Linked DNA regions of Homo sapiens: all the other regions are linked to region 4. The links are contacts of gene promoters, found by promoter capture Hi-C in blood cells and fetal thymus (Javierre and others, 2016). All regions are on one chromosome and are shown on one strand. The core of a region is centred on a gene start or on the middle of the fragment in contact, and the rest is flanking DNA. Distances in the headings are between cores, read along the strand shown.

Evidence for each region. Contacts are between HindIII fragments. The CHiCAGO score rates a contact against its expected background, and 5 or more counts as called.
Region 1: a contact is called between a fragment that was not itself captured here and the fragment with the promoter of SLC6A5 in region 4, in 1 of 17 cell types (erythroblasts). The highest score is 5.6, in erythroblasts.
Region 2: a fragment that was not itself captured here is called in contact with the fragment with the promoter of SLC6A5 in region 4 in 1 of 17 cell types (erythroblasts); the score reaches 7.1 in erythroblasts.
Region 3: a fragment that was not itself captured here is called in contact with the fragment with the promoter of SLC6A5 in region 4 in 1 of 17 cell types (erythroblasts); the score reaches 5.7 in erythroblasts.

What each region holds. Positions count from the first base shown.
Region 1 is chr11:20,409,584-20,412,283 of GRCh38, forward strand. All of the region lies in intron 9 of PRMT3 (protein arginine methyltransferase 3), which reads left to right. Among named protein-coding and RNA genes, the nearest start is that of PRMT3, 23 kb to the left of the region's middle. The HindIII fragment of the contact is 1,613 bases long and covers 634-2,246 here.
Region 2 is chr11:20,357,425-20,360,285 of GRCh38, forward strand. No RefSeq gene overlaps it. Among named protein-coding and RNA genes, the nearest start is that of HTATIP2, 4.9 kb to the right of the region's middle. The HindIII fragment of the contact is 7,195 bases long and covers 1-2,861 here.
Region 3 is chr11:20,378,576-20,381,389 of GRCh38, forward strand. All of the region lies in intron 3 of HTATIP2 (HIV-1 Tat interactive protein 2), which reads left to right. Among named protein-coding and RNA genes, the nearest start is that of PRMT3, 7.7 kb to the right of the region's middle. The HindIII fragment of the contact is 276 bases long and covers 1,136-1,411 here.
Region 4 is chr11:20,598,238-20,600,937 of GRCh38, forward strand. SLC6A5 (solute carrier family 6 member 5) reads left to right here and starts at 1,371. Exons shown (of 16, transcript NM_004211.5): 1 at 1,371-1,438. The coding sequence starts at 1,436. The HindIII fragment of the contact is 1,386 bases long and covers 653-2,038 here.

The sequences.
Region 1 (2,700 bases), core at 190-2,689, 190 kb before region 4:
TTGCCCTGAACTTGTTTAGGTTTTTCATAGATAATGGTTTGTGGTTGCGATTTTTGTATTGGAATACACAAACACACACACACACACACACACACACACACACACACACGTTGCATTTGCAATTATAGAATTACACATACATATATATAGATAGATATCTAGTCAAGCTTTTTCTAGTTCTTATGATACCATTAAGTACAACATGATCATTTTGGGGGTTCCATAGAGAGTACCCTCAATTGCTTATTCATTGCCATCCAAACAAATATGAGAACCACTGTCCCAAAGAAGAGATTGTTTTAGAAGAATTCTCAAAATTTTATTGTTGATAGTAAAATTATGGTGAGCTATTTCTACTAGAATTTCTAGTCTTATGAAAGCTATTTCTACTAGAATTTCTAGTACATTTATGAGTTAGTCATTGTTTTTTACGATAAAATGGGACTAGATGTGCTCTCATTTTAATTTCTTAACTCTATGAAAGAAATGTAAAGGAATTATAATACATTGTTTCATTTTATTTTACAGAAGTCCTGATTCCCATTGTCTTTGTAGAAACATGTTTATGTAATGATTACACCTAAAATTCATCGTTTATAATATTAATATTTAGTGCTAGGGTGTTCATGTCCAAGCTTCTTAGTAAAATATTTAAAATGTTTCTGACATATACATTTAACATTCAATTACTTAATGAGGAAAATGTTTTCTGACAAATTATTGCTAGAAGGAAATTAATTTTCAGTCCTTTTTTCATTGCGGTCATCTAAACACTTCGTGATATATTACTTTTGATCTAGAGTTACAGTTTTGGAGGAACGAGACACTGGAATTAAATGTGTTTCTGGTATATTGATGAGCTCCCAGCGGAAACAATTTCTAAAAAAAATTATATTTTATGATTTTTCAAAATAAATAGGTAGTTGTGTAAATCTTATAATTTAATACCAGTATTAAAAACCTTGAAAATATTTAAAAATATTATTTAAAGATATTCACAGTAATTCTATCCAGATTTAAGAACAATTTTTTTTCTGCCCACATAATCCTAAATATTTTTATTAGTTAGAAGACCTTCTAAAGTATATTTGTCACTGGTGCAGAGCCCAGAATAATTTGGGATTAATAGTCTTTGTTTTTAAAGTCTCCGGGAAAGCTACCAACTTACTTTTAATCAAAGGATGGGTGTCAATTTGCATCTATTAGTATTTTTTCTGTTAAGATAGCATCTTCTACATCAGTGGGCAAAAATAGAAGTGTGAAAGAAATATGTCCCTGATTCAGCAAGTGACATCTGCAGTCACAAAGGAGTGCTTTTCCATGTACTCAAATACAATAAATTGCTCCTCCCTTCTCATCTTTAGATCTTTCACTTATAAAGCCAGAGCTAACAGAATGTCTCTTTAGCAATACTTACAGGATTCGATACAAAGATGTTTTTGAGATAACTTAAAGTTAACTCAGCTAAGTAAGCACATAACTAAAAGTATTTTAACAAGATTTTTATATAGTAATAATGAGATTTAAACCCAGCAATCTAGCATAATAGCTTTTCATTAAAATTATTAGGGTTCAAGATACCTAAGACCTAAAATTTGAGCTCTGTCAGTTTCTTAGGATAAAATAGGTAGAGACATGTGACTTATTTGGATAAGGATCCTCTGTCTGTAATCATTGACTCAAAATACTTGTCTTCAGTCTTTTCTGTGTGTATTTTTGGAAAGGGAGTCTGATCATTTTGTCAGCCAGATTTTTGAATCTCGAACACTAATTTTAATGTAGTGAAGTAGGAAGTACATATGTCAAACTAGTCTTTGCTGTGTCAAATATTTTATGCTTACCAATGTTTATTCTCTCAATCTTGTAAAGTGTCATTTTTGTAAGATTTCCTGCTAGCTCCAAAGTATATCTAGAATCTTTGCTTGAGTGTCAGATGTAGTTATAGGAAGGAAGCATAGATAAGAAGTGCAGTGAAGAAATCAAAATCAGTTTCACTACTGCAAATAATTATTTTCTTGCTGTAATGTTAGCAGTCAGAGAAATAGCATTTGTGACAAAGATCACTACTAACCATGGAGAGTATAACAAAATGACTAAAACTTAAGTTTATATTCAGTTAAAGTACCAATTTAGCTAAGTGAACATTTTGCATAGAGCACATATTTACTATAAATAGGCTTTTGCAAAAAATAATCACATTTTAAAAAATAGTTTTAAAACATTGCACATGAGAGCATATACCTAGAAGCTTAGTGAGGAAAAGTTTTATTATACAGCAGGTTCACAGTTGATTCAGAGGGAACAGCCATGTATTGTGACTTTGTGATAATGGATTTTTAACAAAACAAATTGTATCCACATAAGACTTGTTTTTTTCTAATTATCTATAAAGCTCCTGCATATGTTATTTTCCCCCTTTGTACAGTGTGGAAATTGAACAAGTAGATGTATTTAAAGGACTAAAGAAGCAGACTTATTATTATCTCACAGTTTTTAGTACTAATGACCAAGCTTGTACTCTAGTTGCTTGTTGAATGCTTTGTCACTCAATTCCTAGTTTTCTTTTCAGATGGAAACTATCAAAGGCTATAGTTGTTATTATCAAGATCCAGTGATATTTGTGTAGACCTTTTTGTCTTACCTCATGCTAGATGGCCATGTTTAAGATTCATTATAGACATTATTTTTGCCAATCATTAC
Region 2 (2,861 bases), core at 306-2,805, 240 kb before region 4:
CCGTCTGACTGCAAAGTTGCTTTCTACCACATCATGTGTATCAGTTTGGGTCCTGGCAAGAAACAGAGAACATGTTCCAACAGAGTAACTGAGGGAGAATTTAGTGAAAGATTATTTACAAGGAAGCAGGAAGGGTTAAAGAAAACCCAACAAGGAATGGTGCTGTGTCTCAGTGCTAGCAATAGCGGGGAGCCATTTCTACTCCTAAGTCTAAAAGGTTGAGGCAAGGAGGTGGTTACTGGAACCTGGAGAGAGTGCCTGCAGCTGTCAGGGAGGCTATCAGACAGGAGTGAGGCTCTTGGGTCGAGGAATAGCAATCTCATAGCAGGAATTCAGGGGAATAAAGCCCCTAACCCCATACTCCTCCTCTGCTTCAATTTCCTACTGGTGACTCTTATCACCAAGGTAGGTGATAGGTCAAGGAGGACAAGGTAGACTGGGTGATGCAGGCCTTAGAGGTCAGCTGTGGAGTCACAGAAAAGGATACAGAGAGTGGAAAGTGGATCTGGAGGGGCAAATGAAAAATGTGCCTGTAATCCCAGTACTTGGGAGGCTGACACAGATAATTACTCGAGCTCAGGAGTTCAAGACCAGCCTGGGCAACATGACAAAACCCTGTTTCTGGAGAAAAAAAAAAAAAAGATGCGTGTCTGTAGTCTCAGCCACACGGGAGGCTGTGGGAGCTTGAACCCGGGAGGCAGAGGTTGCAATGAGCTGAGATCATGCCACTGCCCTACAGCCTGGGCGACAGAGCAAGATCATATCTCACAAAAGAAAGAAAAAAGAAAAATGCCCAACATACCAGTGTTTCCCAAACTTTACTCCTTCAGATACTATTTTCATGAGTTTACCATATCCTATGTTTACAATACACTCAGCTGTACTTAATATTTTATGAAAACGTCCTCTTTTTTTTTAAACTTTGTTAAATGTACTACTAGTAACAGGTACTAATAAATGTATTAATGGTAATTAAGGTAATATTTCACTACCTTGAATAGAAGAAAACCATAAAAAATAAATCTAATAAAATCAAGTTTGCTAAATTTTAAAACCTAAAATTTAACAATAATTATAAATGATAATGTATCTTATGATGTCCTTCACAGGCTGGTCCCTACCTGCCTCTCTAGTCTCCCCTCCCCTGCCCTGCCCCTGCCCCATGCTTCCATCTCTCCATTTCAAGCATATTGGTTTTTGGCCCTTCAAAACCAGCCATACTTCTACCTACCACAGTGCTTTTACATAGGTTATTCCTTTGGTATATATCAGTAAGAGGACATACCCATGAGTGCTAGGGAACCTGAAGAATTTAACAAATACAGTGCTATCAGCTAAAAACAAGAAGAATTATGCTTTCCTGAAAACATTCTAGAATTACACAGGTATTACTCATGATTTTGTCATTGATCTGGATATCCAGGTTCTTGTCCTGGCACCAAAGTTGAATCCCAAGATCTTAGATGATATATTTAATAAACGTGTGACTCAGTTTCTCCATCTATAAAAACAATTAGCTATCAAGAACACGATAGATACACTAAATCAACTACCTAAACTGTTGAATGCAATTCATGGTTGTATTTGTTATGTGAGAGCAGAAAATTACAATACTTTCTTTCAGACACCTACCTTTACCAAATCCAACCTCTTATGTGCCCAACCAGATATCTTAGTCATGCTACAGTTATTTAAAGCTCTCATTTGTTAAAAAAAAAAAAAAATTATCTAGCATTCATATTTACAAATAAATGAGATAAATGGGGAACAAGTATAGCCACTTTAGATGCTATTTAACATCCGTTCTGTTTTCTTTCTATAATAGTGACCTCTACTTTCCTTGGGGACCTTACTTCCTCCCCTACTCCCAGACATGTGGGAAGAGATAGCCCCACCCGGCTTCATTCCCAGAGCCACAGTGACAATCATAAGGTTTAATCAGAACTAAGGAGATACAGCTGGGGACTTCTGCTTACAGTTATGCTCTTTCTACTGGACTTGAATCTAGGGGGATGTACTTGATAGCTTCAATCATCCATTCTCCTCATTTATCTACCTTATTGTATGCCCTGAAGAAAACTGGTCTGCACAATATAAGTTCCCTCTAGCTTCTGGTTGAATTTAGACAATGAAGAGTATGAGCAAGAGCACAGCCTTTGGGTCATCTTGCAGGGTCTGAGAGTAAGGCCGACGTGAAGGGAAATAGAGCCATGGTTGGCAGAGGGACTGGGTCCTGGCCCCATTGGCTGACTGGCTGATTCTGGTCATGCCAAGACTATTATATACACTGATTCTTTAGTTGCATGAGCCAGGACATTTCCTTTTTTTTTTTCCTCAAAACATTTTGAGTTTGGGGCTTCAAACACGTGAAACAGAGTCTTAATGAAGGTATAACTAAAAATATAGCTCTGAAGTGAAGATGCATGGATCCCTGATCCTGAGGACTCTAAATCTGACCTAAATACAGTTCCAGTCTCCCTAAGGCCCCATCCTACAGCAGATCCTGTTTTGAGATTTCTCTGAGATTCTGTCTCTCTTATACATGATTTATAGCCTTACAATATTACAATATTCACCATCTTTACTCGCCATGAGTCAGTTTGTTCCTTGGAGCAAAGCGAATGTAATGAAACAGTTCCCATCTTACAGATAGGGAAATGGAGGCCAAGATATATGAAGAGACTTCATCAAAGGCAAACCTGAACGTGGCAGGCAGGTCTCTGGCCAAGGATCTTTCCATGCCAGCTCCGTTTCTTTATGTCCCCTTTCCCTCCTTCCCTATGCTTTCCCCTTCCCCTTTGCCCTGAATTTTTGTGGTCCGGTTGCTCTAGGAGCCTAGGTCTTGTCACATTATCTCAGCA
Region 3 (2,814 bases), core at 24-2,523, 220 kb before region 4:
ATAAGATATTTCCTCATTGTTAAAGATAAAGGCGTTACTACTGACTCACTGGGTTATAATAATGATTTAACCAGATTTTTAAAAAAATAGCTAACACTAAATGAGCCAGGCAGTATTCTGAGGGCTTTTATGTGCATTTGCGTGGAAACAGGTACTGTGATATTAAGACCACCAGCTGTTGGCTGGGCACGGTGGCTCACGCCTGTAATTCTAGCACTTTGGGAGGCCGAGGTGGGAAGATCACTTGAGGCTGGGAGTTTGAAACCAGCCTGGGAAACGTGGCAAAACCCTGTCTGTACTAAAAATACAAAAATTAACTGGCACAGTGGTGTATGCCTGTAATCCCAGCTACTCGGGAGGCTGAGGCAGGAGAATTGCATGAACCCGGGAAGCAGAGGCTGCAGTGAGCCAAGATCACATCACTGCACTCCAGCTTGGGGACAGAGTGAGACTCTGTCTCAAAAACAAAACAAAACAAAACAAACAACAACAACAACAACAACAACAAAAACACCAGCTGTTAAGCGGCAAAGCTAGAGCTTGAACCCAGGCTGATTCCAAGGCCTATGCCACTAGCTATTAAGTAATGAATAGCCTTTGTCACTAATACATGCAAAAGGGACCCAGCAGAGATTGGACCGTGACAGAGCCTCAGCAAATATTAAGGCCAATACAACGGAAAGACACTTCTGATTTCACTGCAATTGGCCTGCATTACCTGCAGCCTGGGATTATGAATTAGATTAATAAAGGACAGAAATGACAACCAAATGATCCAACCCAGAATGACGCTGAACAATATATAATTGCTTTTACAATTTGGAAAGATTATCTTTCCAAAATAATCCTTCAACTACTGTGTGTAACATTCCTAGTATTTATTGCCTATTTTCTCAGCCTCCATGTGTGTATGAACTCCCCCGCCCCACCCAATTTTAGAAACTCCTTTATTGTTTAGGAACATTTATTCTACTCAATGAAGTTTCAATTGCATTCATTCATGGTGGGCCAGCTCTGGGGGCTTGGATCAATCATGTGCTTTATGGGCATTCTGCTGGTGCCGTGGGGAGACGTGTCAGGATGTGGAGCCCAGAGTACTGGATGGGCCTCATGTCCTCTGTTCTCAGGGTTTATAAGCTTTGGTTTCCTCATCTATTCAGGGTGAAGGTATACTTTCCAGACATGTGACATTTTATTATTGGGTATCATCCTTGACCTCAAGGAGTTTATAATCTGCTTGTATTGAGGGATCCTCAAAGACACCCCCAAGTTTGGTAATTCACTAGAAGGTTTCATAGGACTCAGCATATAGTCATACTCACAGCTACAACTTATCGCATTGAAAGGATATAGAGCAAAATCAGCAAAGGGAAAAGGTGTGTCGGGTGAAGTCTGGAGGAAAGTAGGTACAAGCTTCCAAGAGGCCTCTCCCCATAGAGCTTGCACAGGATGTGCTTAATGTCTCCAGCGATGAACGTTTTCTGCCAGAGAAACTCATCTGAGCCTAGGAATGCAGGGTTTTTATGGGAGCCAGTTACATAGGCACATTGGCCTAGCCAAATTGCAGCCCTCCAGAAGAAAGGCAAGTTTTCAGCATAAACCACATTGTTTGTACAGACAGTTTAGGCATAGTACATGACCCTTATCAGATAGGGAATGGTGGGAACACACCGAAAATCCAAGGTTGCAAGCACAAGCCAGGGGCCAAACTTGTAACAGGCCTTTCTAAGGATAGCAGTCTCAGCCTGCTATGGTATCTCTTTTATGCACACTGCTAATAGAGACAAAACAAATCTTTTAAAAAGCTAAGAAATGGGCTGGGCGCGGTGGCTCACGCCTGTAATCCCAGCGCTTTGGGAGGCCGAGGCGGGCGGATCACGAGGTCAGGAGATTGAGACCATCCTGGCTAACACGGTGAAACCCCGTCTCTACTAAAAATACAAAAAATTAGCCGGGCGTGATGGCAGGTGCCTGTAGTCCCAGCTGCTCGGGAGGCTGAGGCAGGAGAACGGCATGAACCCGGGAGGCGGAGCTTGCAGTGAGCTGAGATTGCGCCACTGCACTCCAGCCTGGGCGACAGAGTGAGACTCCATCTCAAAAAAAAAAAAAAAAAAAAGCTAAGAAATGTGTGTACACATAAAATCTTGTGTATGACTGTTCATAGCAGCATTATTTATAATGGCCAAAGAGTGGGAACAACCTAGATAGCCATCGACTGATGAATAGATGAATAAAATGTGATATATTCATGCAATAGAATATTATTCAGCTATAAAAAGAAATGATACATACTACAACATGGGTGAACCTTGAAAATATTATGCTAAGTGTGAGGAGACAGTCACAAAAGACCACGAATTATATGATTTCATTTATATGAAATGTCCAGAATAGGCAAATCTATAGAGATAGAAGGTACATTAGTGGTTGACTAGGTCCCCAGAGGGTAGGGTACGAGGAGTGACTGCTAATGATATGGGATTTCTTTTCAGGGTGATGAAATATTTTAAAACTTAGATCGTGATGAAGGTTACAGAGTTCTGTGTATATACTAAAAACCACCTATTAAAAAAAAAAGAATGGCCAAGCGCGGTGGCTCTCGCCTGTAATCCCAGCACTTTGGGAGGCTGAGGCGGGTGGATCACTTGAGGTCAGGAGTTCGAGACCAGCCTGGTCAACATGGTGACAACCCCGTCACTACTAAAAATACAAAAATTAGCCAGGCATAATGGCGGATGCCTGTAATCCCAGCTACTTGGGAGGCCGAGGCAGGAGAATTGCTTGAACCTGGGAGGTGGAAGTTGCAGTGAGCCA
Region 4 (2,700 bases), core at 121-2,620:
AGCAGGAGGGTGCCCCTTAGTGCCCCCGGCGCCCGCCGCAATCTGCCACTGCAGCCTACGCCTGCGGCCGCGGCCGCCGCGGCATTGTCCTCCCGCCGCGTGGGACGGCCCAGCCGCTGGCGACGGCGCGCACCCCGAGGCAGTGGGCTGGGCTGTTGGCAGTAGGGAAGGGAAAACGTGCTGTCTGTGGCTCCTCATCCCCGAGGCCAGGGGTTCCCCGAGCTAGACCGGCAAGGAAGGAGAGAAGGGAAGCATTTTGCTGATAATCCCCTTCTAGTCTCCAAACTACACCTTCTTTGTAAAGGCGTTTTTTCCTCTTCTGATTATAGCTATTGCATTGTACACACAACAAGAAAGTCCATCTTTTTATCGCCATGGCCACCCCCACTCCCATCCCCGCCACAGTACGGTTGAACATCCTGGCATGGCTTTGCAGATTGCCAGCTCTCATTCCCCCTCCCCCGCATTGCTGGGCATCCCGATTTGGACGGTCTCTAAGGTCCCGCGCTGCCAAATCAGGCCTGGCTCTTGTAGGATTTTATTGAAAGGACTGTAAAGAAAGAATGGGTTTCCCTTGACTTTGAAAGTGACCTAAGAACTAGGTCTGTGTTGGAAAAACTTCGTTTTTCTTTCTCTAAAACGTCTTCAGAAAAGCTTAAAAATACAATGAAAAAGGTCAGTTATACTCAGAATTTTCTCTTGATTGTGATAACAGAAATAGGAACGGAAATACCAGATCACAATTTTTAAGCAAAAACCCCAGGATTCCTCCAAGACTGACTGTCTGGAAGGGTAGGGATGTGAGAATCTGAAGTCCACATACATGCTAGGTAGGTACACCTTGATAAATGCAGGACCCATGCCTGCTTCAGTCATCGCAGAGCTGTGGGGCTATGCGCAGACCCTCAACCTCTTTCGGAGTAATATTTTCGGAATCCCTGAAGATAAGGGGGGACAGCAATGGAATCTAGTGAAAGGGAAAGAATAGACAGTGATTTAACCCCCTCCTTCCTCCTCTACAGCCCGATCCACTCTGTTGGCGGCTGCGCCTTGCCTTGGGTGCAGTGGGACGTGTCCCTCCCATGTTTCCCTTAATTAGGAGGAGGCAAACTTCTGTCTTCCCCTCCTGCCGGTTTCGGTTTAGTAATCAGACCACATGAGTCACGCCAAACACGCAGCCCCCTCCCGCTGGAGTGACAACTGGCCAGCATACTCTAGGCTGTTGTCCCTTTAAAACTTGAATCCAAGGGGGTAATGATTTATCAAACTTGTATTATCAAGAAAATGTCAAACCAAGGGCACCTTGCTTTGCACTGACGCAAACCCGGCCTTTCCCAAGGAGATATAGAAAGCGCCTCTCCTGCCTGAGCCAAACCCAGTCTTGTCAATAGCGGGTTTCACCCTCCACCAGTTCAGTCTGTTGCCTGTGTCAGACATGGTGAGTGTTTGCTTTTGTTCTTTCAAGAGGAAAGGGGGCTGAGGGGACAGGGAAAGCAGATTCGTTTTGGCTATTTCTTTTGGAGATGTCTGTGCATTGGGTGGGGGGAAAGGGGGCGACGAGGAGAACAATTCTCGCAGCCCTAGGTATTTGTACTTGTGAGCGTCACCTGAGGTCGCAAAGAGGTTTCCTAGGCTGTAGAGCTGAGAGGTTGGCTGTGGCTCCTAAAGACCCGATCCCGGGCACTGTCCTCGGTGCTGAAAAGCCAGATGCCGGTACAGAGGCGAGTTGCTCTGGGTCCTAGAGGCTACTGAGACAAATGCTGGCTGAAGCCGAGGTACCTAGATTTGTGCAAATCGAGGAGTTCTATTCTGCGTGTTTGTGAAAGGGGGTTAGACGAGAGGAGTGCGGTGGAGGCGAAGATAATAGGATTATTCTTACAGTGTAATAATAATTATTGGTGCTAATGTTTAGGAAGCCGTGAAAGATAACACGAGGGGAGAAAGTGGATAGAAAAACCACCGCTGGCAGTTCTTTTCATTTGAAAGTGAATTGGGAAAAAGCGAATAAAAATTAGTCATGAGTTTTGGTACTCAAGCAAGCTTAGAGTTGTGAAGGATATTAGACTCCTGTGAATAGTTACGCAAAAAAGAAGAAGAGGAAGAAGAAGAAGAAGAAGAAGAAGAAGAAGAAGAAGAAGAAGAAGAAGAAGAAGAAGAAGAAGAAGAAGAAGAAGACCTAAACAAAAGAACAAAAAGCTTTGCATATTCTTTTCCATGTCTGGGAATCTGGAAGTGAATACGAGTTGTGTAAGATAACAAATCTAGTTACTACTCTGTGTCTTAAATTTAGTTTATTATCGTTGTAGGTTTTTTTGTGGTTATTTTGATCGTGATTCTTAACCTTGTCTTTGCTACCTGGCGGGAGGAGGTGGGTTGTGGAGCGCTGGGACTCAACCAATTTGGCCTCAAGCGCTCGCAGGTGCCAGGGCATCAGCTTTGTGGCCACAGCTTGTCTATGGGGGAAAAAGGCAGTGTGCATTGTTGAATGACAAAGGAAATGGGGCGGAAAATTAAAGAATCTTTCTACAGTGGTGATGGGGATGCGGGCACCCACAGCTGTGATGTGGAATCCAAAGAGGGAGGGGAGCTCATGACTCCAGGGCTATTTCCATTCCCCCTTTACCCTTACAAAATTACATTTCTACCTCTTTTCTTAGTTCATCCTCCACTAGGGAGGGAATATTAGCTTCTTTTTGTCAT